Linked DNA regions of Homo sapiens: regions 2, 3 and 4 are each linked to region 1. Evidence: promoter capture Hi-C in 16 types of primary human blood cells and fetal thymus (Javierre and others, 2016). All regions are on one chromosome and are shown on one strand. Each heading gives the region's core, a stretch centred on a gene start or on the middle of the fragment in contact. The rest is flanking DNA. Distances are from core to core; before and after follow the strand shown.

Region 1 (5,060 bases), core at 1,490-3,989:
TCGAAAGATATACTGAAATAGGTAGGGCAGAAATCCTAGCCTGAGATTTTTTTTCTTAGAAATAACATTCATAGCAACTTGTGAAAAAAGCCATGCCTGTGTCTCCAGCAGCAGTGAAACAAGATGGTGGATCCCCTCACCATTAACCCCCATATGGAAAGGGTATATGTAATTCAGAAGGGATGTGTATTATGTCTGTTCTCACACTGCTATAAAGGAATGCCTGGGACTGGGTAATTTATAAAGGAAAGAGATTTAATTGACTCACAGTACCTCAGGGCTGAGGAGGCCTCAGGAAACTTACAATCATGGCAGAAGGGGAAGCAAACACATCATTCTTCACATGGTGGCAGGGGAGAGAAGAATGAGTGCCCAGCAAAGGGGGAAGCCCCTTATAAAACCATCAGATCTCATGAAAACTCACTATTACGAGAACAGGGTGGGGGAAACCAACCCCATGATTCAATTATCTCCACCTGATCCCGCCCATGACATGAGGGGATTATGGGAATTACAATTCAAGATGAGATTTGGGTGGAGACACAGCCAAACCACGTCAGGATGTGTAGACAACTGAAGTACAATAACATCAAGGCTGTTTTGACGTAAGGGCAGAATTTACAGTATGTGCTCTCACACAACTTGAAATCTTAAAGGCCTTCCGGGAACAGGGTTAATCAGAAACCAACATGGCAGATTAGTACCAAAGATGGAGTTACTTTAGCTTCCAGATTCCACCCATCAATCCAGCTCTTACAGTTTCACTCGCCCTCCTATTTGGAGATGGTCCCTGAGCTTTTAGGGAGGGTGGTTTCATATGATATAGCTTTAGCAGCAGCGCCCTAGCAGTGGAAAACAGATTGGGCCCAGAGAGATTCCAAATGAGGGAGATTCACAGGCTTTGTTGAATTATCTCTAGTCTTGAGAATACCATGACTTTGGTTTTCTCAGAAGTAAAACAAGAGATACTTCTTGTTTATAATTAATTTGAATAATTAATAATTTGAATAGTAGAAACATAATGCATGCAAGGATTACAATCAAAAGAAAATTTGTATGCCAGAACAACAAAGAACCTATTTCGTTGGGAAGCCAACTGAGAGCAGCGTGAAGAAAATTAAGGCCTGACACAGGGACTCACACTCGTAATTCCAACACTTTGGGAAGCTGAGGTGGGAGGTTCATTTGAGCCTGGGAGTTAGAGATCAGCCTGGGCAACAGAGCAAGTCCCCATCTCTACAAAAACAAACAAAAATAGCCAGGTATGATGGTATGCACCCGTAGTCCCAGCTCCTTGGGCGGCTGAGGCAGGAGGATTGCTTGAGCCCAGGAGGTCAAGGCTGCAGTGAGCTATGACCACTCTACTCCAGACTGGGTAACAGAGCGAGACCCTTTCTCTAAAAACAAGAAAAAATTAAAACCCAGTTCTCCTTTAGCGACATCTTGTAGCCACTAGCCTGACATTTTAAACACATAAATTAGAAACATGATGCAAGAGTGATTCAAGGTATTTTATATAGGAAATGCCTGGTGTAGTGTCTTGGACAGCTAAATAAAGGTAGCTGTTAAAACATTAGTTTTATTCTATGCTCTTACCATTCCTCCCTCTCCAAGTTTTGTTTGTAGTCTGTGGCAGCAACCTAGTCTGTATTTAGTACACATTGAATAATCAACAATGAAATGTAAATATTGAGCACATTGTGTGTCAAACACATGTATTAACTCAAACCTCACAGAAACCCTTTGAGGTCGGTACTATTAACAATCCCCATTTTACATACGAGTAAACTGAAGCATGGATAGACTAAAGTAAAGTGCCTGAGGTCAACTAGTGAGGAGGCGGAGTGGCAGTCAAGTCGAGGCAGCCTAAGCCTACACTGCCTCTATGTTGCATTAATAAATTAATAAATCTGTGACCAAATAAATGAAGTGACATTTAGTAGCATCGAAAGATCCCGTGAGTAGGACTTCCTAAGAATGCTCTCCTTCTTTTCATGGACAAAATTTTAGTCTGTTTAAAATAAATTTTGGACCGGACACCGTGGCTCACGCCTGTAATCCCAGTACTTTGGGAGGCCGAGGCAGGTGATCACTTGAGGTCAGGAGTTCGAGATCAGCCTGTCCAACATGGTGCAACCCTGTCTCTACGAAAAATACAAAAATTAGCTGGGTATGGTGGCGCGCGCCTGTCATCCCAGCTACTCAGGAGGCTGATGCAGGAGAACTGCTTGAACCCCGGAGGCGGAGGTTGCAGTGAGCCAAGATCTCGCCATTGCACCCCATCCTGGGCGACAGAGCGAGACTCCGTCTCAAAGAATAAATAAATAAATTAATTAATTAATTTTGAAAACCTGTCAGCACTCATCAGAGCTTTACACTGCTGTACTCGGGACACTTGGGGCCGTAGACAAGCAATTAAATTGACTCACACGTGGTTAGAACCACGTCATCCTGATTCGTGAATCCGTACTCTCAACTACTAGAAGCCCTTTGTGGAATGCTCGGGGCGAACCTGACGCTTGAGCTCTGACACCACGCAGACACAGCCGGGGATTTAGGAGCTGGGTAGGGACTCCTGGGCCGGATGCCTCATCCCGGCATGCACCTCAAGCCCCGGTGACCACGCCTTCCGGCGAGCGCCAGGGAGCGCGTGTGCGCCTCGCCGCCCGGAAGCGCCGGCCGCTCCCTGCATGCTGGGAGTTGTAGGCCTCCGGCGTCAGCCCGCGGGCTGCCGCCCGCACTCTCCAAGAGACTGCTGGCGCCGGCGCCCGCCCGCGCGGCACCGACGCGGGGAGCGCGCTTCGCGCTGACTCAGCGGCGGCGGCGGCTGCGGCGGCGGCGGCGGCGTTAGCCGGCCCTCGCGCTCTTTCCCTTCCTGGGGCGCCGACCCCGCCCGCTTGCTTGCTTGCTTGCTTGCCTGCCTGCCTGCCTGCCCGGCGCCACGCAAGAGAAGGTGCCAGGGGACGCAGAGCGACTAGAGGCGCGCGGTCCCGGCCAGCACCGTCTCTGGCGTTGTAGCTGCGGCCGTGGCGGAGGACTACGGCGACAAGGACGAGGGCCGCTCTCCCAGCTCTCTGCGTGCCGCGCCGCTCCGCTCCGCTGGCTGACCATCTGGAGTGCAGGCTGGGAGGCGGGATGGAGTGATAGGGAAGGTGACTCGGGGCTCGGGGGCAGCGGGACCGGGACCAGGTTTGGTCCGCGTGAGGCTTCGAGGAAGTTGGCCGGGGCGGACCGGCCCGGGGGAGTCCCGACGCCAGGGAGGGTGCAGGCTTGGGACCCTCTATGGCGGTGCACCCCCTGGCTGGGCGGACCGGGTGGGGGTGGGTACGAGCCGGGGCCGCCGCCGAGGAGCGCGTCCCGAGTGCGTGGCCGGCGGTTGCTTGGTGTTTCATCACCCGAATTGCCACGAGGCTTCCTTTAGGGGAGGGATCGGGGGAGGGATGGGAGCAAGGCTAGCAGAGGAGGGTCGGCATCGCCTGTGGTTCCGAAGCCCGTTAGTCATCGTTGTAGCGTTATCAACTGTGGAGACCTCAAACTTGATTCTTCCCCCACCCCTGGACAAAAAGGAAAAGTGTTATTTCTGTGCAGTAATTGGCCAGCACGGACGCTCCATTTCTTCTCAAACCTTCCTCACCATCCTGCAGGACTAGAGAAGCATGAGGTTTCCCTGTAACCAGAAAAACGAGTACTTTTTGAAAGTGCTAATTAGTTGTGGCGGGCGGGGGTTGGGGGAGAGTTACGTTTTATTAAACCGACTTGTCAGCGTGGTGTTAAAAGGCTGGAAAGATTCAGTCGTAGTATTTGAAACAGTCTTCAGTAGGTGTAGAGGAATTTTTCCAAATTGTTTGATTCTTAATGGCTATCCAGGAAAAGTTAAGGCTTAATATTTTAAGTATGTTGCTTGCCTTCCCCCAAGAACCTTTGCAAGATGCATAATTGTTTACCGTATTGAAACATTTTTTGGGGTTTTGTTGTTGTTGTTTTGAGACGGAGTCTCGCTCGGTCGCCCAGGCTGCAGTGCAGTGGTGCCATCTCGGCTCACTGCAACCTCTGCCTCCCAGGTTCAAGTGATTCTGCAGCCTCAGCCTCCCGAGTAGCTCTATTACAGGTGCGCCCCGCCACACCTGGCTACTTTTTGTATTTTTCGTAGAGATGGAGTTTCACCGTGTTAGCCAGGATGGTCTCGATCTCTTGACCTCGCGATCCGCCCGCCTCAGCCTCCCAAAGTGCTGGGATTACAGGCGTGAGCCACCGCGCCCGGCCTTCCACTGCATATTGATCGTCCAAATGCCTTCTATGTGGGGGATTCTTTCTGTAGTGACAACTGTTAACTAGTTTGTTTCCTTGGGTTTATTGGCTATGTTTTCCTTAGGGCCACTTCATTTTTCTCCCGATAGCTTCAGAGTGACTTGACCAAGCTTAAGCACTTTTTCTTTTTTTTGACACAGTGTCTCACTCTGTCGCCCAGGCGGGAGTGCAATGACACGATCTCCGCTCACTGCAACCTCCCCCTCCCGGGTTCATGCGAGTCTTCTGCCTCAGCCTCCTGGGTAGCTGGGATTACAGGCGCAGGCCACCATGCCCAGCTAATTTTTGTATTTTTAGTAGAGACGGCGTTTCACCGTGTTGGTCAGGCTGGTCTCGAACTCCTGACCTCGTGATCCGCCCACCTCGGCCTCCCAAAATGCTGGGATTACAGGCGTGAGCCACCGTGCCCAGCCAGCAATTTTTTTTAGATGGAGTTTCGCTCTCGTTGACCAGGCTGGAGTGCGGTGGCGCCATCTCAGCTCACTGCAACCTCCGCCTCCCGGGTTCAAGCGATTCTCCTGCCTCAGCCTCCCGAATAGCTGGGATTGCAGGCATGTGCCACCACACCCGGCTAATTTTTGTATTTTTAGTAGAGACGGGGTTTCTCCATGTTGGTCAGGCTGGTCTCGAACTCCCGACCTCAGTTGATCTGCGCCCCCCTCCCCTCGGCCTTCCTTAGTGCTGGGATTATAGGCGTGAGCCACCCTGCCTGGCCAGCATTTTTTTAAAAAGCCATAGCAAATTCAAGGAAG
Region 2 (5,495 bases), core at 29-2,528, 550 kb before region 1:
GAAAGCACTTTGATATTAGAAATCATTGTCTGTGCATCTCCCACACGCTTTAGTACAGGGCCTCATTAAACATTTATTACATGAGAAGAGGAATAATTTGGAATAATAATTCCTTTATACTGCAAATAAGCATGGTGATCATTCAGAATTATCTAGGATGTCCAAACAAGTATTACCGCAAAATTTTTTTTTTTTTTGAGATGGAGTTTCACTCTTGTTGCCCAGGCTGGAGTGCAATGGCAAGATCTTGGCTCACTGCAACCTCCGTTTCCTGGGTTCAAGCAATTCTCCTGCCTCAGACTCATGAGTAGCTGGGAGTACAGGCACCCGCCACCATGCCCGGCTAATTTTTTGTATTTTTAGGAGACACGGGGTTTCACCATGTTGGCCAGGCTGGTCTCGAACTCCTGACATCAGGTGATCCACCCACCTCGGCCTCCCAAAGTGCTGGGATTACAGGTGTGAGCCACCGCACCCGGCCTATTACCACAAAATTTTAAGTTGAATTCAAATGGTTTATAATTTCTTTAGAAAGTCACTCAGCTGGAAACATTCTAAATGTCCAACAGTGGGGAATGGTTAACTAAATTCCACTGGTAAATTGTTAACTAACTGTATACATGCAATGTTATGCAGTCTTTACCACTGGTTTTTGAAGAACATTTTATGATGTGGTTAATTGTTTTTATAATAATTGAAGAAAGACTGTAAAATGGAAGGTGAAATAATAATTAAAGATAATCATAACCAGAGCTAACAGTATTGAGCACCTACAGTGAGCCAGTCACCATTGCTTTGCATGGGCACCATGAGGGATACACTGAGTTGTGTATGTGCAAAACAAGCTGCAATGCACGGGAGGAGGAATTTCTGCTTAACTTTCCTATTTAGTATAGTTAGTACTTTCTGTGTCTTTGGGCCACAGTATACCTGGCCTTTGGTAAATTTTCAGGCTAAATGTAAGAATCTGACTTTCAACTCCACCCTCCTTGAGTACAGGAGTGGGCAAGGTAAATCCAAGCAAAGCTTAGCCTCTGGATTGAACCTCTGATAATCAGATTTGTCCATGGGACAACCAAATTTCTCATTTGTTTACAACTCATTTATATACTTTGGTTTTTCCTTGCTTTGAGCTTAGTTGGCATGTGTGTTTGGGAGAGCAAGCTTGCTTCTTTGCTTGCTTGCTTTGTGAAATATACATACAAACAGGTACAGAAAATGATTATTTACAGTTTAAAGAATAGTAGCTTTGAATACTTCAGTGCTAGCCACCCAGGTTAAGAAAGAAACATTACCAGTGCCTTAGAAACCCCCATGGAATGTCCCTTTCCTAGCAAATCTCCCTTCATTCCCACTGCCACTCTTAGTATTAATAATTCCTTTGTTTTCTGTAAAGCTTTACTGTCATTTTGTAGCTTTCTTTATAGTTTTGATTAGGATGCATTCATATATCAAGAATATAGGGCCATTTGAACACTTTCTGAATTTTTAATAATATTGATGAATTGGTGTAAATTTTAAAAATTGGAATAGTAGTGTTTTGGCATGTATAACAAATCTTTATCTTTTAAAGATACATGCTGAGTAATAATGGATGAAATTAGGACATCTGGGATTTTCTTGAAAGTAATCTTGGGGAGGGAAGAAATACGTAGGGATACAGATAAAATACAAAATGAATTGATAATCCGTGGGTGCACGAGGTTAATTATATTATTCTCTTTATTTTTGCATATGCTTGAAATTTTCCCTAATAAAAAATTAATAATATGTATTCTTATGACTTCAATTTTATACTCAATATTATTATGTTAAGATTAATCTACCTTAATGTATGCAACTATAATTTCACTGCCACACTGTGTGCTTTCTCTGGTGCATAATATTCCAGTGCATAAAAAATACTACAAGCTATTGATTCATTCTATATGACATTTGAATTATTTATAGTTTTTTTGCTATCATGAATAGTAATAGTGTATAAAATGCTGTAGGTGTCTCCTGATGTATACGTACAAGAAGAGTTTCTCTAGGTGTACTTGCTGGGTCACTGGGAATGTGCATGTTCATCTTTACCAGGTAATGTCAAACCTTTCTCTTATTAGCAGGGGAGGAGAGTTCCACAGCCTGAAAAACACTTAGCATTGAGCAATGTGCTAGTTAAAGAAGAGGCTAAGCTGTTATAATAAAGAGAACCCCCCAAACAGTGACTTTAAACTAGAGAGATTTTTTTCTTTCTCGGGTAACAGACTGGAGATGTCCAATCCAGGCCAGCAGGACATCTTTGCCCCATTATTAAGTTTCCTTCCATCTTGTGGTTCTGCCATTACCTAGATAAATGAACTTGTCTACTCTTTGAAACCAGATTTTAAGTATTTCAGTGTTTCAGCTTGTAGGAAGGAAAATCAGCCTTAAGGAGCACATGTCCACGGTTTTCAAACCCAGCCCTTACTAGTACACATAATTTCCACTTACTTAACCAGTGGGAACTTAGTTACATGGCCACATCTTGCTGCAAGGGAAGCTGGGAAATATAGTCTCTCTGGATGGCCCTGTTTCTAATTATAACTTGATGGTCACAGCATGAAAGAAGAGATTTTGGTGAACAAGCAGCAGTCAACATGAAAAATGGTGTTTTTTTTTTTTTTTTTTTTTTTTTTTTTTTTGAGGGAGAGTCTCACTCTATCAGCCAGGCTAGGGTGCAGTGGCACCATCTCTATGGCTCACTGCAACCTCCACCTCCCAAGTTCAGGCAATTCTCATGCCTCAGCTTCCCAAGTAGGGACTACAGGCGTGCACCACCACACCCGGCTGATTTTTGTATTTTTTAGTAGAGACGGAGTTCCACCATGTTGCCCAGGCTGGTCTTGAACTCCTGGGCTCAAGTGATTGCCCTCCTTGGCCTTCCAAAGTGCTGGGATTACAGGCGTGAGCCACCATGCCCAGCCAGAATTATTTTCTCTTCCTTTTTATTTTTAATTTTTGTGGGTACACAGTAGGTGTGTATATCTTATTGATTTGTGAGTTTTGTTTTGTTTTAGTATGTTCGTGATGTTAGTCTCTTGCCAGTTATATCTGTTGCAAATATCTGCTCCCAGTCTGTAGCTTGTGTTTTCACTTTTAAAAAGATCCTCTAGGCTGGGCTTGGTGGCTCATGCCTGTAATCCCAGCACTTTGGGAAGCTGAGGCAGGTGGATCACCTGAGGTCAGGAATTTGAGATCAGCCTGGCCAACATGGCGAAACGCCATCTCTACTAAAAATACAAAAATTAGCTGGGCATGGTGGCAGGCGCTGGTAATCCCAGCTCCTTGGGAGGCTGAGGCAGGAGAATCATCTCAACCCAGGAGGTGGGGATGAGCCAAGATCGCACCATTGCACTCCAGCCTGGGCAACAAGAGCGAAACTCCGTCTCTAAATAAATAAATAAATAAATAAATAAATAAATAAATAAATAAAAAGATCCTCTTAATAAATAGAAGTTGTTCATTTTTAATCTGTTCACATGTATCAATTATTTATATTTGGTGTTTAAATAATCCTTCCCCACTCTAAAGTCAGGAAGATACCTGTCTGTGTCATCTTCTAAATGTTGTAAAATTTTGCTTTCGGCGTATGTTTTTAATTCATCTGAAGTTTTTTATTTTGTGTGAGCTAGGAATTTTGTTAAAGTTCTTTTCATTTAAATGACCTTTCTTGGGTTCCATGTGCTAATAGTCTTTTTGAAGAAATGATATGCTAGCTGCTTCTGTTTTGATGAAAGTTTCACATACGCAAAACTCTATTTTTGGACACTCTATTGTGTTCCGTTGGTTAATTTATTCTTGCACCAATACCAATCACACTATCTTAACTACTATAGCTTTGTAATAAGTCTTTATGTCTGGTAAGCTAAATCTTCCTTCTGTCTTCTTTTTCAGAAGTATCTTCTGATCTTGCTCCTTTCTCTTCCAAGTAAATTTTAGAATTAGTTGGCCTTCCATTGAAAACACATTGGCATTTTGATTGGAATTGCGTGAAATTATAAATCAGTTAGGGAAGAATTGGCATCTATATATTAGTTCTTCCTACCTGTGAATATGAGTATTCCTCCATTTATTTAGTTGTTTTAAAATATCTTTGTGTAAAGTTTTATGCTTTTGATATTTTTGTTTAGATTTATATCAGGATGCTATTTTTATGACTAATGTTCATGAGATCTCTTTCAAGAGTGTTTTCTACTTTCTATTATGCAGAAATGCAATTTACTGCTTTTTTTTTTTTTGAGATGGAGTTTCGCTTACCCAGGCTGGAGTGCACTGGCGTGATCTCGGCCCACTGCAACCTCCGCCTCCTGGGTTCAAGCGATTCTCTTGCCTCAGCCTCCCAAGTAGCTAAGATTACAGGCATGCTCCACCACGCCCAGCTAATTTTGTATTTTTAGTAGAGATGGGATTTCTCCATGTTGGCCAGGCTGGTCTCGAACTCCCGACCTCAGATGATTCACCCACCTTGGCCTCCCAAAGTGCTGGGATTACAGGTGTGAGCCACCACACCTGGTCTGCAATTTACTTTTTTTTTTTGAGACGAAGTCTTGCTCTGTCACCCAGGCTGGAGTGCAGTGGCATGGTCTCGGCTCACTGCAACCTCCGCCTCCCATGTTTAAGCAATTCTCCTGCCTCAGCCTCCAAAGTAGCTGGTATTACAGGTGTGCACCACCATACCTGGCAACTTTTTTTGTATTTTTAGTAAAGACAGGGTTTCACCATGTTGGCCAGGCTGATCTCAAACTCCAGACATCAAGTGATCCACCCGCCTTGGCCTCCCAAAGTGCTGGGATTACAGGCATGAGCCACCGTGCCTGGCTGCAGTTTACTTTTACATAGCCACTTTGCTAGTCTGCTATTTCAAAGAATTTTTTCCCTTGTTTGGTAAAAAAAACACTCATTATTTATAAATAAAGATGATTTTATTTTCTCATTTATAAGCCCTATGGATTTATTTTTCTTATATTTTTGCCCTAGGCAGAATTTCCAGTACAAAATTAGTGAAAGTGCCAACCTTGGCATTCTTGTTTTCCATTGAGAAAGGAATGCTTTCAGGCCCCTCCTCCCTTGAAGAATGATGGTTGTTTTCAGTTTATTATAGATACTCTTTAATAGGTAAAGTGCAAATCTTTTGTATTCTTTGCTTACTTGAAGTTTTAATCATTAATAGGTGGTTGAATGTTACCTTCTTTTTCTTTTTGAATCTGTTGATATTATGTTTTTTCTTCTTTACTCTGTTAATGTGATGAGTAATATTTATAGATTTCCTAATATTTAACCTTCTTTGCATTAAGGCTATCTTCGTTGTATTTTGTGTGTGGTGTGTGTGTGTGTGTGTGTGTCTGTCTGTCTGTATACACCGTTGGATTCAGTTTGCTAATATCTAGTATTTTTGTCTTTAAATTCTTGGGAAAAAAACAGACCTATGATTTTACTTTTTAATAATGTCGCTGTCTATGTTTTTTTTTTGG
Region 3 (5,555 bases), core at 1,314-3,813, 600 kb before region 1:
CTCTCAAGATTTCCTTTTTTTTCCTTCATAAAATTGGCCTAACATGGGGAAGGAGGACTGGAAGACTTTCTCATGCTCTTAAGAATTATACCTGCTTATATTTCTAAAAGAGAAATACAAAGTATTCGTATGCTACCAATAATAAATATTTTAAACATACCATAATTATCATCATCATTGCTAGTTTTTCTAGCCCCTCAGATTCTGCATATTGTCTTAAATTACTAGGTTATCACTGAATCATTAGTCATTGCCAGTGCTAGATACTGTCCAAGGCAAACATAGTCCTCAAAACATAGTCCTGGTCCCTGTATGTTATATAATTTTAGAATAATGTCATATAAATCATATGGTACATGCACACATAGTAAAATATATTTTTACGTTTTGTGCTTTAACTAATATCTGTTTAGTATTTGTTAACCATGGAGTTATGGAAAAACTTAAGCTCTGAAGTGAGACAGAACTTTGTTGAGAACTCGTCATTGCCATTACAAGCTGACAGCTAAAGTGCAATTTCACAAATGCCAATGAGAGAATAATGAACTCCTCAGAGTTGTTGGGGGGGTTAATGATGACCCATGCAAAGTGCTTATGTATCATGTATATAAAAGGCGTTGAACAAATGTTTTTATCCCCAGCAGTAAGAAGCAATGAAAGTAGGCTTTGGGTATATTTGTGCTGAAAATTAGATTCTATCAGGATATAAAGAAATGGTTTAAGCAAGTTGTAAAGAATCTAGGATAAGAGTGACTAATTTTAAGATGAATTAAATGGTACTTGTTCTATTTAATACATACTAGTGAAAATATTTCAATGGTACTGGTTGTTCTAGGCAGCACTTAATATGAAAAAAATGAGTTATGATACATGTCTATTCCTTTAATGAAAACTTTTTAAAAATACAGTTAAAAAGAGAGTAGGCTGAGCACAGTGGCTCATACCTGTAATCCCAGCACGTTGGAAGGCCAAGGCAGGTGAATCACTTGAGGTCAGGAGTTCAAGACCAGCCTGGCCAACATGGCAAAAACCCTGTCTCTACTAAAAATACAAAAATTAGTTGGGCATGGTGGCACGCACCTGCAGTCCCAGCTACTCAGGAGCTGAGGCACAAGAATTGCTTGAACCCAGGAGGCAGAGGCTGCTGTGAGCTGAGATCATGCCACAGCACTCCAGCCTGAGCAACAGACTGAGACTCTGTCTCAAAAAAAAAAAAAATGGTAATACAACACATTCCCATTTACTCACCATTCAAAACTAACAAATTTCAGCTCTCTGTCATATTTGCTTCAGATATTTAATTTTCCTGTTAAAAAAATTAAATACTTTCAATAAGGGTAAAGCTCCCTTTGTACTGTTTTCTAGTCCCTTTCATCTTCCTTCCTCCTCAGATACAATTGCTATCATAAATTTGATGTGGATCCTCCCATTCAAATTTTTATATTTATACTGATCCTAAATATATATGTGTAAATAATTTTTATGACTGTACTTTCAAGTTTATGTATATTTTGTGAGTGTCCTAATCCTTGCTTTTTTTAACATTATATTTTTGAGATATAACATTCATGGAATGTTTATAATGCCATTCTTCGTTTCTTAATTTGTCAGCACTTTCTCATCCATTGAGTCAGATGAAGAGTGTAATAGCAGCTCACACCATAAAAGGGTTGAGAACTACTGACTTTAAATGCCTTTCTGGTTTGAACTAAACCATTATTTTACAGAGTTCCATGCTATTCAATTATATTTCTTTGCTTAAGAGTTTAAATTCTAGCCAGCATTTATTTTCAGTGTGGTTAAAACAACAACAGAAAAAAAGGTCAGGCATGGTGGTTCATGCCTGTAATCCCAGTACTTTGGGAGACTGAGGTAGGTGGATTGCTTCAGCCAAGGAGTTCAAGACCAGCATGGGCAACATGGTGAAACCCCATCTCTACAAAAAAATACGAAAAATTACCTGTGTGTAGTGGTGCACACCCGTAGTCCCAGCTACTCGGGAGGCTGAGGTGGGAGGATCACCTGAGCCAGGGAAGTTGAGGCTGCAGTGAGCCAAGATTGCACCACTGCACTCCAGCCTGGGCCACAAGAGTTGAGACCCTGCCTCAAAAAAAAAACAAAAAAACACAAAACTATCACATTTTGTATTATCATATGCAAATTGATCTGCCTACAGCCAAAGCTTACCATTAATCTACAGCTATGCCCCATCATTCAAACTTGTTCAAAAGATTGTATTATAGAAATTTTACTTCTAGATAGAATGTGGATTAAATCTCATTGTAGATTTTGTATAAAATGATGAATTTCTGATACCACATACCTTTGTTCAGGCTTTGTTTGTCTCTTGTTTTTGTTGTGTTGTTTTTAACAGCTTCATCACTGGTCCAGCTGTAATACCAGGGTACTTCTCCGTTGATGTGAATAATGTGGTACTCATTTTAAATGGAAGAGAAAAAGCAAAGATCTTTTATGCCACCCAGTGGTTACTTTATGCACAAAATTTAGTGCAAATTCAAAAACTCCAGCATCTTGCTGTTGTTTTGCTCGGAAATGAACATTGTGATAATGAGTGGATAAACCCATTCCTCAAAAGAAATGGAGGCTTCGTGGAGCTGCTTTTCATAATATATGACAGCCCCTGGATTAATGACGTGGATGTTTTTCAGTGGCCTTTAGGAGTAGCAACGTAAGTACAAAATATGATTAAACATTTTTAGGCCCTAACACCTGAATTTCTGAACCAGGAAGACTTATTCAAAATTGTAATAAATTTAGTTCTTCTGGGATTATTGAGGCCAGGTACAGTCTTTCTCAGAGATAAAAACAGGGTGTGGTCGCATCCTTCAATAACAATTATGATGTTTTTAAGAGTATTTTATTCTTTAATGAGGAGATGAGTTACTTTTTTTCTTTTAAAACCCCAAGGCATAGAATGGATTTTTCAAGCTTATTAGGAGTGCCATAAAAATATATTTAGCAGAGAAATGGCAGATAGATTTTTTTAAAAACAATGATAGTATCTATATATAGTAAAAAAAGGCAATATTATTATATCAGGAATATACCGTACCATTGTGTTTGAGACTGGCTGAATTTATACAAATCTCTTCTATAAAAGGAGGGATTAATTAAATGATAGCTAAGGTTTCTCAAGATACAGTCTTTTAGGCCAGGCGCAGTGGCTTACTGCCTGTAATCCCAGCACTTTGGGAGGCCAACTAGGCAGATTGCTCGAGTCCAGGAGTTCAAGAGCATCCTGGGCAACATGGCAAAACCCTATCTCTAAAAAAAAAAAAAATCAAAAATTATCCGGGCATGGTGACATGGACTCCTGTATGGCGCCTCTAGTCCTAGCTACTCATGAGGTTGAGGTGGGAGGATCACTTAAGCCCAGGAGATTGAGCTGAGATTGTACCACTGCACTCTAGCCTGGGCAACAGAGTGAGATGAGACTGTCTCACCAAAAAAAAAAAAAAAAAAAAAAAAAAAAAAGATATAGTCTTTCTCCAGCTATAAAATGGAAAACATATATTTTTATCTTTCTGTTAATAGGATGTTTTTAATTAAGAGCAAGTTGACTTTAAGATAAGTTGCCACTAGTATATAAACCTCCTGAGAGCAGGGATTTTTGTCTCTTTTGTTCACTGTTCTATCCACAGAGCCTAAAACAGCACCTGCAGAGTAGGTATTCTGTATTTGTTGAGTGGATAAATTATGAAAAATCTCACTGACATGATTTTTGAATCATACATTCATTATTCATCATTCTGTCCCTGGTTGCGGGATGTGGCCTTAGACTGCTGCCTAGTTAGCGACACAGATGTCACTGGCACATCTGTGCCAGTAATGAGATGTATTCCCAAGCCTACTCCTATAACACCCTAACTCAGTAGGTTTGGGGTAAGGCCAGACAAAAAGGTTCTTGTTAAGTAAAGCCAGGTTTAAGACCCTCTTAAAAATCTATTTTTTGAGCAGAGCCTGCATTTGTAAAATGTTTTCATATAGTATAAGATGGAACCTCTTGGTAATCATGATGTTGTTGCACTAGGCCAGTATATTTCTTATATAGGTCTGTGGTTCTCAACCAGGGGCAATTTTGCCCACCGGGAGGCATTTGGCAGTGTCTGGAGACTTTTTTTTTTTTTTTTTTTTGAGACGAAGTCTTGCTCTGTCACCCCAGCTGGAGTTCAGTGGCACGATCTTGGCTCTCTGCAACCTCTGCCTCCCAGGTTCTAGCCATTCTCCTGCCTCAGCCTCCCAAGTAGCTGGGATTACAGGTGGGCATCACCACTCCTGGCTAATTTTGTATTTTTTATAGAGAGGGGGTTTCGCCATGTTGGCCAGGCTGGTCTCAAATTCCTGACCTCAAGTGATCTGCCTGCCTTGGACTCCCACAGTGCTGAGATTATAGGCATGAGCCACTGTGCCTGGCCTGGAGACGTTTTTGATTGTCACAACTGGAGGAAAGAGGTTGTCACAACTGGTATCTAGCAGATAGAGCCCAGGGATACAGCTGAACACCCCACAATGTATAGGACAGCCTCCACAAGAAAAAATTAACCCAAAATGTCAGTAATGCTGAGGCTAAGAAACCCTGTTATATACAAACTGTTAGGTAAAATTTTGTTCTCGTGTGAAAGTTACATTTCAGGTACACAGTTTAATCCCTGGTATTTCCAAATGCTCATAAAAATAGGTAACTTTTCCTGTATGGCATACCATGGTTTTATCTGTCAGTTTGTTTTAATCTACTTGAAAAGCCCTTGGGATTAATTTTTCAGAGCCCTTTGCAATAGCAAAATATATAATCTTTCCTTTTTTTTAATTGACAAATAGTAATGGTATATGATAATGGGGTACAAATGATGTTTTGAAATATATTTACAACGTAGAATGCTTAAATCAGACTAACAAATCCGTAACCTTATATACTTAACAATTTTTGTGGTAAAAACATAACATCTGCTGTTTTAGCAATTTTGAAATATACAGTGCATTATTATTTATTATAGTCACCCTATTCTGTGTGATAGATCACTAAAGCTTATTCCTCCTGTCCAACTGAAACTTCATACCCTTCGATCAACATCTTCCTTTTCCCCATCCATCTCCCTCCCCTGGAGTATTCTGTAATCTTTTCATCACCTGGTTAAAATGTTGCTTAAATCGTGATCATTATGAATAGAGAAGAGTCTTTATACTTTGAAGGTTTTGAATGTAACATGCCTAACAGCTGCAGATGAGTAATGCAAGTTAAAGAATGTCAAAAACAAATAACTTTAGGCACAACATCTCTGTAACACTTTTGTAAGAGATGTCAGTGTGAAATTCAATTTTTTTAAGTCAGTAGATTCAGGGAGTTTTCCAAAGTATTCATGGAAAATTACAATTTGAGATTTAGAAATCACATTTTAAACCTCTTCTGTATACTTCTTGCTACCTAAGAGATTGGGTTATGGGGAATTTTTGCCAATTCTATATCATATGTTAATTCATGTGTATTTATTTTTATAGATACAGGAATTTTCCTGTGGTGGAGGCAAGTTGGTCAA
Region 4 (5,751 bases), core at 2,230-4,729, 780 kb after region 1:
CACTAATAACAGTAATAGGAAATGGCTAAGAAACATACAGGATATTATGTGGTTACACACTTTTATAAAAGGGGAGAATTCACTGTAAATTCTCAAATGATCAGTCTTACATGATCAAAAGTTCTAAATTCAACATTTGGATTTTATTCTGTAGGTTGAGTAATGGCAATTCATGGAGGTTATAAAGCAGAGGACAAGCATGATCGAATTGGTCCTTTAAGAAGGATAAACAGGTGATGGTTTAGACAGTGATAGGGTTGGAGGGAAGGAGTAGGGTGATGACACCTGAAGGAGGTGGATAAGTGGGAATGGAGTTGGGCCTATGAATGAAATTCATTTGAAGAAAGACATATGGTTTTGAGTATAGAGAATAAGAGACAGATAGGAGTCAAAGATTATTCTGGCCATGAGCCTGGATGACTGAGAGAATGATAATATCATTGGAGGAATTAGAGATGTGGAAGAGGGATCTTGTTTGGGGAAAAGTGGTCTAGGGAAAATGAGTTTACTTGGGGCTTATTATTTGAGTTGTTCAAGTGAAAAATTCTTGTAGGCTCTTGTAGATACAGAATTGGAGTAAAGATGAGAGACTGGTGCTGAATGTGAGTACTAGTACTGTTTACTAAGGGAATACTTTTAAATGTTTGTTTTTTTAATGTGTTGTTGTTTTCTTTAAAATCAAGACCAGTTGTTACAAAGAAGTAACATGTTTTAATGTCATTGTCGTTTAAAAAATATTTTTACTTCTTAAAGTAGACTAGCCAAAAGGTCCCGAACTTGGTATCTAAAATGAATATGGGGAATAAGGATTTTGAAAAATAGCTGTTGCTCTCATTCTTTTTTTTTTTTTTTCAATATGAGACAGGGTCTTGCTGTGTCACCCAGGTTGGATTGCAGTGGTGTGATCATGGCTTACTGCAGCCTCAACCTCCCAGGACTCAAGCAATCCTCACAGCTCAGCCTCCTGAGTAGCTGGGACTATAGATCTGCATCACCACATCTGGCAAATTTTTTGTATTTTTTGTTGAGACAGGATCTCACTTTGTTGTCCAGGCTGGTCTTGAACTCCTGGGCTCAAGCGATCCTGTCACCTTCGCCTCCCAAAGTGCTGAGATTACAGGTGTCAGCCATAGCAGCCGGCCTATTCTCTCATTCTTGAAGAATGAAAGCTCCATGTTATGTTTGAAGTTTTACGAGTTGACTGCTTTGTAAGAAAAAAAAAAAAATCCTAGATCTATGAGAATATTCCCGTGAATGCCAGGGATTTGCATATACCAGTTTGATGATTTCAGAAATTAAAGTCTACTCTATGAAAATGTTTTTCATTTGAAAATTTTCCCTAGAATGATTTAAATTAAAAATAATGAGGAAAAACTTGTGAATCTCTACAGATATATCCACGGAGACTAGTTTGAGGATACACTGGCATAGCTATCAGAGAACCTGGGCTTCAATATTGGCCCTTCCACTTACTAGCTTTTTTTCACTAAGGCAAGTTGCTTAGCCATTGTAAACCTCAATATCCTCATATGAAAAATAGGTTAAATGAGAATGAAGTAATGTGTGTAAAGTAAAACTCATACATGGCACATAGTAATAATAATAACTAACCCTTACGTAGCATTAACTGTGTTCCAGGCACTGAGCTAAACAATTATTATTTAATCCTTATGAGGTAGGTACTTATCCCATTTTATAAGTAAATGGAGACACTGAGAAGTAACTCGCCCAGGGTCATGTAGCTAGTAAGTGAAGCGGCAGTATTTGAACTCAGACAGTGGCTCTTAACTGTTCTTCTAGATTGCCTTTTAATATGTATAAATAAGGACTTGATATATGTTCTCTACTATTATTGTCTTTATTTTCAGAAAACTGTGACAAGTATAGATTCATAAAATCCTAGAAGTGGCAGGAATAATCTATGAAACCTAACAACTTTAGGAAAAGTTGTATTCATTCAACAATTATGAATCACATGGAACTATTTATCCTTAAGGTTTTAGATTAATTAAGGGGGAGGGGGCATCTGCTATGAAGCAAACTATAATATATAATACATAGAACAATAATACAATATTAAAACTATTTCTAATTTTTAAAATATTTGCAGTCTCAAAACTGGTAGGGAAAGTGATCTTTTGATTTGTATTACCAATTACAACTTGTTCTTTCTGTTGTTCATTTTTAGGATATAAAGAACTTTTCATACATTTGATCTCCCTTTTTTGCTCCTTTTGAATAAACTTCATATTTTCCCTTTATACTCATATATGTTTTAATGGAAATGATGCATTTGATAATTTCAGGGACACTAAAATAATCATGAAAAATTATTTTCATGATTCCTAAGAGTTGGGAAGTTCTTAAAGCTTGCTTCTCCTTGCTCATTGATTATTCAATATTAACTTTCCCTATCTGAAAAATATGTTATATAAATGGAAATTTATAGCCTCAGTGCAAAGATAATTATATAGTTTGTAAGTTGTTTAAAAGAGAAGGACACCTTAAACTGTTGGAACTCTCCAAAATGTATTTGTTAATAAATAAGTACTACTAACTTGTTTGTGAAAATTTTATTACTAATGATATAATCTAAATTCGAATGAAGATATATTCTAGGGGTGGGGAGAATATCAGGAAAAATAGCTAATGCATGCTGGGCTTAATACCTAGGTGATGGGTTGATAGGTGCAGCAAACTGCCATGGCACGCGTTTACCTATGTAACAAACCTGCACATCCTGCACATGTATCCCAGAACTTAAAATAACATTTTAAAAAAGATGTATTTTAATCTTGTATTGATTATACATTAAAAATTGCTGCCATTTAATATGGGAACATAGCTTAATACTAATTGTGGAAATTGTTATAACAGTTATTTGCTTATAACTTTGGATTTTGATTTTCATATTTAGATTTATTTTTAACATAGATTTTATTTATTTTTTATTTTTTTGGAGACAGGATCTTGTTCTCTCGCCCAGGCTGGAGTGCAGTGGTGCAATATCGGCTCACTGCAGCCTCCATCTCCTAGGTTCAAGTGATTTTCCTGCCTCCACCTCCCAAGTATCTGGGATTACAGGCACATGGCACCACGCCCGGCTAATTTTTGTATTTTTTAGTAGAGATGAGGTTTCACCATGTTGGCCAGGCTGGTCTTAAACTCCTGACCTCAGGTAATCCACCTGCCTCGGCCTCTCAAAGTGCTGGGGTTACAGGTGTGCGCCACCGTGCCCTGCCCTAACATAGATTTTAAAGTGAACCAGTAACAGTATAGTTGAGCAGTAACCTTTGGATTTCACTGTTTTAATAATCTATGCTTTAAACTGCATCAGTTTATATATTATATATTATATATATAGTTAATAATATTCTTTATTAACAATATTGCCAAAATTTTTTTAAACAAGAGTTTACCAGGAAGAAAATAAGTTAGGTTTTAATAATTTATTTTGCATGTTTAATATCATTATTTAAAAAATATATTTCTTAGGAAATTAGCTCTTCAAAAAGGTTATAAAAGTTATAGTAACAGAGGTAATCTCTAAAAATAGAATAATGCATCTATCATATGGAAGCCATCATGAATTACTTTTCATATGTCTTCATTTTCTTTTATGTCAAGGTATAGTTTAAAATTATACCACTGAATTTTTCCTGGGTGCTAGATTTATTGCTCTGTGCTTTTGCACAGCTTTTTACTTAAAATGCTTTTGCAAGATGACTTCTGAATTCATCTTTACAGCTATGTTACTATCAAATGGCAAGCTAAAGTTTAAAAACAAGGCTTGGTTGTAAAACTATGCAAGAGTGTAGTTCAGCTCTCCTGAACTAATTGGGTAGTAAGTATGCACCAATTGCTGTTCTGCCCTGAATATGACATGAATAGAAAAAACCCTTTAGTAGCAAATGGATATTTTAGCACATAGCAGAAAATTAATTTTGTTTCTCAGTTAGCTCATATATATCTGAGTATGTACACAAACACACACACACACACACACAATTTTCTGACTATGGCTAATTCCTGAAAGCATGCTGTACTTACAAAGGATGCTTTTGCTCTGTAGGAATTCACCAAGGTAAAATTTTCAAAGCATATGAAGAGGATTGTTGAAATTAATTAGGAGGTGAGGGGAATCTTGGGATATCTACTTCTTCTAGCCTCTGAGCTATGGCTTGGAACCTTGGTCAGCCTTATTAAGGACTTCCTTAGTTTATAAGTGTATCTCCCATGGGATCACAAATGCTTTCTTGTTTGATTTAGTTCATTTGAAGAAACATTAAGTTTCTCCTACTCATTTATTCATTCAGTCACGCATTCACCCAGATTATTTATTGAGCACCTATACTATGTACCAGGTAATGGCAGAAGATAAGTATATATCATACCTTTTAGAACTATAGGAGTGACACTCTCCCCACGCTTTGGCTGGCATTCTCTTCTTTTTCCTAAATATTTCTGCACTAGCTAGCCTTCAGAATTGGGATTTTGTTACCATGCAACAGTGTATCAGATTTATATATTGTGACTTGGGAAACATACTTTAAAAATTAGTTTCTGTAAATTTGAGTATACCATCTGGTAAAGCTTATCACAGTGTATATATACACAAAAGAAATAGTTGGCTAATTGAAGTAATGTGTGTTGATCATTCCTTTCACCTTTTCTGTATTACCATTTTCTCAATTGGGAATTCTACCTTTAAAAACCACACAATTTTAATAAATGTAGGTTTTATTTTTTGCAGGTTTTTAGGAGTAATTTTTAAAAAAGGAAGAGACATGAAGAATGAATTTGCCAAAAATGAAAATGTTATAAAATCTGAACATTTATGATTATGGTTCAAGATGTTCTAGAAATATTCTTATCCTTTTGACAGAAGTGTTTTGTTTTTTTTTTTTAATTTCATCTCTAAATGTCCCGTCTTTCAGATTTTAAAGCCTTAGGTGAGAAGAGCAAACATTTATTGAGAATTTTCAATGTGTGTGAGCATTTTATTTTAATTTTCATGAGGGTAACTACTCATACTATGTCTGTGAGAAAACGGAAAGATAGAGGGAATAAGGTTACAAGTGATTTGTCCAAGGTCCCACAGCTACTAGGTGTTGGAGCCAGCATTTGAACCCAAGATCTAACTTTAGAGTTCACAGTATTAACTACCAGGCAGCAGTAGAATTTTTTTATACTTTATCTTATCGTTAGCTACAGGCTTTATTTGGGCAAGCAAGATAAACACAACCTCTGGGCCTTGCTTTTTGTGTCTGTTAAATGAGGGTATAGTAAAATCAACTTTACTTCCAGCCAGTGATTTTTGTAGGGAACTGCTGTGATAATGTCTGTAGAAATGCTTTGGAGAAATTTGGAGTGATATATAACTGTAATTTTAATATTATAAGATAGGACTTAACAGCTATAGTAGTTTAAGCAACACATGTTCAGCATTATGACATGTCCTGTCAGTAATGTTAATAAGTAATAGAGTTGGCTAAATTTATAGTCCTTATCAGTATTTAAACCTTTCAAGCTGTCTGAGCAGATAAAAGGGAGTTATCTTTTCACGTTACATAATTAGTGCCTTCCTTATCTCCAGGACTGAAAAATAATGTGGTTTTTTTTTGCAGCTATATTAAACAGGTGATGACACAACTTGAAACTGGATTGTAGCCTTGCTGATCACTAAAAGGTAGATTTGCTGATAGGAAAGTCAGTGTAAATGGGTTACATTGCTTTAATCCAAAATGTAGT

Evidence for each region. The method cuts DNA at HindIII sites, captures the fragments that hold promoters and counts their contacts. A CHiCAGO score of 5 or more calls a contact.
Region 2: a fragment that was not itself captured here is called in contact with the fragment with the promoter of XPOT in region 1 in 3 of 17 cell types (naive CD8 T cells, megakaryocytes and non-activated CD4 T cells); the score reaches 7.1 in naive CD8 T cells.
Region 3: a contact is called between a fragment that was not itself captured here and the fragment with the promoter of XPOT in region 1, in 12 of 17 cell types (monocytes, naive CD8 T cells, activated CD4 T cells and 9 more). The highest score is 7.3, in monocytes.
Region 4: a fragment that was not itself captured here is called in contact with the fragment with the promoter of XPOT in region 1 in 1 of 17 cell types (total CD4 T cells); the score reaches 5.0 in total CD4 T cells.

The regions. Positions count from the first base shown.
Region 1 is chr12:64,401,653-64,406,712 of GRCh38, forward strand. XPOT (exportin for tRNA) reads left to right here and starts at 2,740. Exons shown (of 25, transcript NM_007235.6): 1 at 2,740-3,152. RefSeq lists enhancers at 2,315-2,364, 3,462-4,338 and silencers at 2,755-2,914, 3,245-3,354. The HindIII fragment of the contact is 10,073 bases long and covers 1-4,416 here.
Region 2 is chr12:63,852,840-63,858,334 of GRCh38, forward strand. The region is part of intron 1 of SRGAP1 (SLIT-ROBO Rho GTPase activating protein 1); the gene reads left to right. Among named protein-coding and RNA genes, the nearest start is that of SRGAP1, 11 kb to the left of the region's middle. The HindIII fragment of the contact is 232 bases long and covers 1,163-1,394 here.
Region 3 is chr12:63,799,717-63,805,271 of GRCh38, forward strand. RXYLT1 (ribitol xylosyltransferase 1) reads left to right here. Exons shown (of 6, transcript NM_014254.3): 4 at 2,375-2,689; 5 at 5,518-5,555. Among named protein-coding and RNA genes, the nearest start is that of RXYLT1-AS1, 20 kb to the right of the region's middle. The HindIII fragment of the contact is 767 bases long and covers 2,181-2,947 here.
Region 4 is chr12:65,177,004-65,182,754 of GRCh38, forward strand. The region is part of intron 1 of LEMD3 (LEM domain containing 3); the gene reads left to right. Among named protein-coding and RNA genes, the nearest start is that of LEMD3, 10 kb to the left of the region's middle. The HindIII fragment of the contact is 2,224 bases long and covers 2,368-4,591 here.